Regions from separate parts of the Homo sapiens genome. Here region 1 is linked to region 2. Evidence: promoter capture Hi-C in 16 types of primary human blood cells and fetal thymus (Javierre and others, 2016). All regions are on one chromosome and are shown on one strand. Each heading gives the region's core, a stretch centred on a gene start or on the middle of the fragment in contact. The rest is flanking DNA. Distances are from core to core; before and after follow the strand shown.

Region 1 (2,700 bases), core at 156-2,655, 440 kb before region 2:
GTACTCCCAGCTACTAGGGGAGCTGAGGTGGGAGGACTGCTTGAGCCTGAGAAGTCAAGGCTGCAGTGAGCCAAGATCACGCCACTGCACTCCAGCCTGGGCGACAGAACGAGACCCTGTCTCAAAAAAAAAAAAAAAAAAAACCAGAAGGAAGCAGAGCTGCCCAATAAGGATGAATCTCTCCACGTAGCAGGGAGAAAAGGCCAACCACAGAATAGAAACCATCTACTTCCATGTACATGAAGCTTAAAAACATACCAGACTATATTTTACCTCTTTATTATCTGCTATGCCCTGCTAGAATATGCAAGGATACATACATATATGGTAAAACTACAAAGAAAATTTGGAACTGCTAAACAAAATGCAGGGTAATGACTGCCTCTGGTGGGGGAGGCAGCCAAGATGTGGGAGGGGGCTGTGCTCTATTTCTTGGCCTGGGCATGTTCTGTTTTATTGTTATTCCTTCTAACTTACACATATACAATATTTGCAAGTTTTACATATTTTATTTGTTTTTAATTTGGGAGAGATAGACTATTTGCCAGGAAGAGATGTGGAGGTCAAGGGAGAGGCTTTTTTGGTTTTGCTTTGTAAGATGGGAGGGGTTGGAGCCTACTGCATGCTGATGGGGGAGCGGAGCGTAAGCAATCAGAGAGGCCCTTAAGGAAGGGGTGGGAGGCAGGATTGAGACTATCACTGGCCACAGACCAGGAGAAAGCCATTTTTTTCATGGCAGCAGCAGGAAAGCAGGGAGGATGGGTGTGGATACTGTAAGTTTGGGGGTATGATAGCAGGGAAAGGGGGAAGTGACATGTGGTGTTTTACATTTTGTCTATGGAGTAATGGAGAAGTTATCCGTGGCCATGACACCAACCTCTGATTAACACAGGCCCAGGGGATAGAGTATAAAAAATACATCTGATCTTTGTCCCTAGTTCCAGGAACAGAGCTCCTGAAACCTTTGGAATTTCCTGAGTGACAGCAGTGTCCTTTGTTACTGCAAACCAACCCTTTTTGGTCACAACAGAGCTTATGCTAATGAAGTGACTCCAGGCAGGGTCCTTGGATAGCTTCTGGTTGCCAGAAAGACCAAAGCATGATTAGAAGGTTGGGATTTTCAGTTTTGCTCCCAACTTCTGGGGAGGGGTGAGCAGCTGGACATGATTTAATTCATCAAGACTACATAATAAAAACCTCTGACCAATGGGGTTCAAAGAGCTTCCTGGTTGCTGAACGTGTGGAGGTGCTGGGAACAGCAGGGCACTCCTGAAGTGAGCTTGTGGCAGGCCTCCATAACAACTGTTTCAGTACTGACTGCGTGGTTAAGTTAAATGTTAAAAGCCAGTGCCCTTATACAAAGGCTGGAATGTAACAAAAGCCCACCAGGAGTTTTGCCTAGGCCTTTCCTGGGCCTTAAAGCATGACAAAATTACGAAGGAATTCTTAATGGGACCCATTTAGGATTAAACAAGTTTTACTGTGGATCTGAAGAAACGCCACAGGTCTCCACAAACAAGTTTATTGGGATCTGAAGGAATTCCTCAAAACTCCTTGATTTAGCAAGAGACAAAATAAGGGTAATCACCCCAGCACCTGGACCCATTTAGATTAAGTAAATTTACTGAGGCTCCAGTGGAAGGTCTTCAGGACTCAGACCTTAGTTATAAATTAAAAGAAGTTAATCACGTCTTTAGATGAATGCACATTTACACATAGACATATAGCTTAGAAGGTATATAAGTTCTGAAAAACTTTGTAATTTTGAGTTGGTCCAGCGATAATTTCCTGGCCTTCTCCCTGTAACCGGTTACAGAAATAAAAACTCTCTTCCTCCCCAGTTCATCTGCATCTCGTTATTGGGCCAGGAGCAATAGCAGCCCAGCCCTCAGTTTGGTCCAGGAACAGGCCTGGAAGCTCCGCGCCCTGACACCCTGCCCTATGTGTCTCCTCCGTTTAGCTGTTCCTGAGTTGTGTCCTTTATATAAAAAACCAGTAATAGTAAGTAAAGTCCTTTCCTGAGTTCTGGGAGCCATTCTAGCAAATTAGTAGATCTAAAAAGGGAGTTGTGGGAACCCCCGAATTCATAGCGGGCCAGTCAGAAGTCAGACCTATGATTGGTACCTGAAGTCGGGGGGAAGTCTTGGGGGACTCAGCCCTTAACCTGTGAAGTCTGCCCTAACTATGGATAGTGTCTGAACTGAATTGAATTGTTGAACACCCAGCCAGTGTTGGGAATTGGTGTCAGAAAAAACGTGGCAGTGGTAGGGAGCTTGTGGGGTAGTGGGGGTCCTTCTCTTTGGGGTTGAGAGATACCACTAGTGCCTCAATTCAGTTTCATCCTGAAATTCAAAGGCCTTCATGACCCTGCTGGGAATCTGACCACCGTTTTCCCACTTATTTCTGGGTTACAAATTCACACCCAAACAAACTTCTGGAACATGACCATTTATCCTATGGCAATTAAAGGACTTAAGGACTATAGACATCCTGCATGCCCCACCACGCATCCCTGGGCTCACCTGGATTTTGAGCCTGAATTTTCTGATGCCAGAGAAAGCTTTAAGTGTATTCAGAGCTTGGGTTTTGACACTGTTGTCCTTGTCATCCAGCATGTAGCCCAGCAACACGATGTCATCCGTAGTACAAGCAGAGGCCTGGAGTATTGGGGAGAGATGGAAGAGGCAGGAGAAGCGGGTG
Region 2 (2,787 bases), core at 39-2,538:
GAATTTAACATAGGACCAGTTTGGGATATTCAAGTTCCTCACATCCAAGTTCAGTAAAGTAGGGGGTTGGAACGGTGGTGGGGCACAATAACTGTTCTGTCCCATTCATCTCTCAGGTATCCAGCACCCTCTACCTCGGTCATTAAGAATGGAGGTTTCCTTGAGACCACACGTCTCCTTTGGAGGATGGGGCAGGGAGACACCAGTTTAGTGCCTAGCCACATGCCAGGCACAGAGCCTCACGAGGGGCACTCAAGTACTTGCAGAGTGAACGAAGGCACCCCTATGGCAGGTCCTAGAGAGCTGAGGCCTACCTTGCTCCTTTCCCCCAGTGTTCGCTGATTCTAGTGGCTGAGGGCCTTGCTTCCTCCCCACTAACTAGGGTAGGGAAGGCAGCACTACTGGAGGACTAGAGGAAGAGAGAGAAAAACTCCTTGGCCTCCCAGAAATTGTCTAGGCCAGATGATTGACTTCAGGACAATCATTGATTGGGATTTTCCTGGGCTTAGATTCTCCCCCTTCCCTACCTGAGGTCTCAAGGCCTAAGGTAAGTTTCCCAACCTGATATGTGTGGTGGATAGGGGGGTGAGCTGCGTAGCAGTATAATAGGGTCCTCAGTCCTCACCCACTCCGCAGCTCTGTCCCACCTGGCGGGCAGGGTTAGACAGGCCAGACAGGTTTGGGACTGGGGGCGGCCCCTTTATGCCTCTCTCAGCTCCAGAGGAAATGACTGCCAAGCACTGGCTAACTGTTTCTCTTGAAAGTCAGGAGGAAGCAGCAAGAAAGAGCACACTGCGTGCCCAAGCATGACTCTGTGGAGGTGTGTGTGCTCATCACACAGAGTCTGGGATGTGGCCTGGCTCCTGGCCCTCAGAACCCCATAATGGCCCTCAGAACCTCCTGGCCTCCAGTTGTGGGGCCCAGTTCTGCGCAAGGTTTCTGCACACACTTCACTAGGTCTCTGGAGGGTGGGCAGCGGCATCTACCAGGCTACGTTGGCCCAGTTACCCAGGACCAGCCCCCCGACCCCAGGCCCGGGACGCTGGATGGCTGGGTGCCCCTGGAGTGGCACAGTGTCCACACCTGGCTCCCAGGCGGCAGGGGCTGGTGTGGTGCATCTGCCGTCCTCCCCCGGGTCCCGGGTGCCCCTCACCTTGAGCTGGGACTTGGAGACTTTGCCACTCTTCTCCACGTCCAGCGCGGTAAAGGCGTACCAGATGGACTTGAGCAGTTCCTTGCGCAGGGCCATGGCTGAGGCGCCCGCCCGGCTGGGGGCGGCTCTGACACTAAGATCCGGTTTCAGGAAATGCAAACGGCTGCAGAGACCGCAGAGGTGCCGTGGTGGAGCGAGAGCACCACCTGCCTGCACATTGCGTGAGGCTCTGTGCTGTCGAGAACCCTGCCTGTTGTTCTGGCAGTGCTCAGAGGCTCCACTCCCTGCATGGGAACTGGGGACCAACTCTCCGAGAGCGGGAACCCTCGTTCTGTATCCACGTGGCTCCCGGGGCATGTGAGGCCCTTTTAGAAGCCTCCTCAGACCCGGAGGCTTCTGGAGCCTTCCAGGGCTCCCAGACGCAGCTTGCTGAGGGAAAAAGCAAGCTCATCCTGATATTGGGGTCAGACAGAGTAAAGGTCCAGTCCTAGTTCAACATAGGAGGCCTTGGGTAAGTTACTTAACCTCCTTGAGCAGTTTCCTCATTTGTAAAGCAGGAAAAATGCCTCCGTGTTGTAAGAATGTCTGAGAATGGACGTAAAGCACATAGTAGGCTCTGGGTAGAGCTTTTGGTGCTACTTAACATTACCATGGTGGTGGGACTCCATCCAAGTGGAAGGAAACAAAGGCAACATCACAAAGCTGGAGAAGGAAATGGGCCAGGGCACCTCTCCAGGTCAGGATGTGGCACTTGACTTGCTGGCTCCCTATCCCCTCAGCACTGGCTCTAAACGGTACTCAGAGCACTGCCCACTCTAGCCCCAGTAGCCCTGAAGACACTGGAAACTTCCTGAAACACATGGGGGTGAGCCTTGTGGTGCACCTCAACTTTAAGGGTCCCAGCAGCAGCAGGCTTGGGATTCAGGGCCCTCCATGTCAGTGCTTCCTTTCTTCAGATCCAGTGTCCAAAAGGACTGGGACACGCCCACACCAGGAATGGTGGTCACAGATGTTGAAGACATCTGCTCAGGCCAATTCTAAGACACCTCCCCCTACCCCCTAAGCCAAATAAAAATCCCTCCAAGTAAGGTGCTGGGAATACCTCCTGCCTGGAAGCACGCCCCCGCCCCTCTCTTCCCAAGGAGCTGGTGGCAAGAGTAAATGGGAGCTTTCTAGGCATCCTGGGAGAGGATGCCTGGATCAGAGGAGGGGGTTCCAATCCTAGGAGGCAGGAAGGGGTTGGGGCATATCCATCACAGCAGAGAGAGGAAAAGAGGCACCACCAATCCCTGCAATGTTCCTGTGTAGGCAGAGTCAAACCCAGAGCTTCTTCCCATCAAGTGCCTTCCCCTGTATCCCTTCTTCCCCCTGGAGCTGATCTGGTCTCACCAACTCACTTTTCAGTGGGGTCTGATTGTGGCTTTGAAATCCCACAGCACAGTCCTAGGCACCTAGGTGGGCACCCCCAGAGCTGGGTAATAGAGCCAAGACTTCAGCTCCAGAGGCATCAGACTCTGCTCCTTGAATCTCAGTAACCTTGGCAAAGGTGTCCCCCAGCCTCACTCTAACCTGGGGCTTTGCCCTCTTGGAGAAGCTGACTGTGTGATTTGGGGGTGGCTGGGTTGGAGGGGCTC

Evidence for each region. The method cuts DNA at HindIII sites, captures the fragments that hold promoters and counts their contacts. A CHiCAGO score of 5 or more calls a contact.
Region 1: a contact is called between a fragment that was not itself captured here and the fragment with the promoter of DEF6 in region 2, in 2 of 17 cell types (total CD8 T cells and total CD4 T cells). The highest score is 6.2, in total CD8 T cells.

The regions. Positions count from the first base shown.
Region 1 is chr6:35,738,341-35,741,040 of GRCh38, reverse strand. ARMC12 (armadillo repeat containing 12) reads right to left here. Exons shown (of 6, transcript NM_001286574.2): 3 at 2,523-2,657. Among named protein-coding and RNA genes, the nearest start is that of ARMC12, 2.7 kb to the right of the region's middle. RefSeq lists enhancers at 687-1,294, 1,295-1,903, 2,512-2,700. The HindIII fragment of the contact is 2,315 bases long and covers 248-2,562 here.
Region 2 is chr6:35,296,319-35,299,105 of GRCh38, reverse strand. It overlaps DEF6 (DEF6 guanine nucleotide exchange factor), which reads right to left and starts at 1,288. Exons shown (of 11, transcript NM_022047.4): 1 at 1,154-1,288. The coding sequence starts at 1,249. RefSeq lists a silencer at 2,787. The HindIII fragment of the contact is 28,623 bases long and covers 1-2,787 here.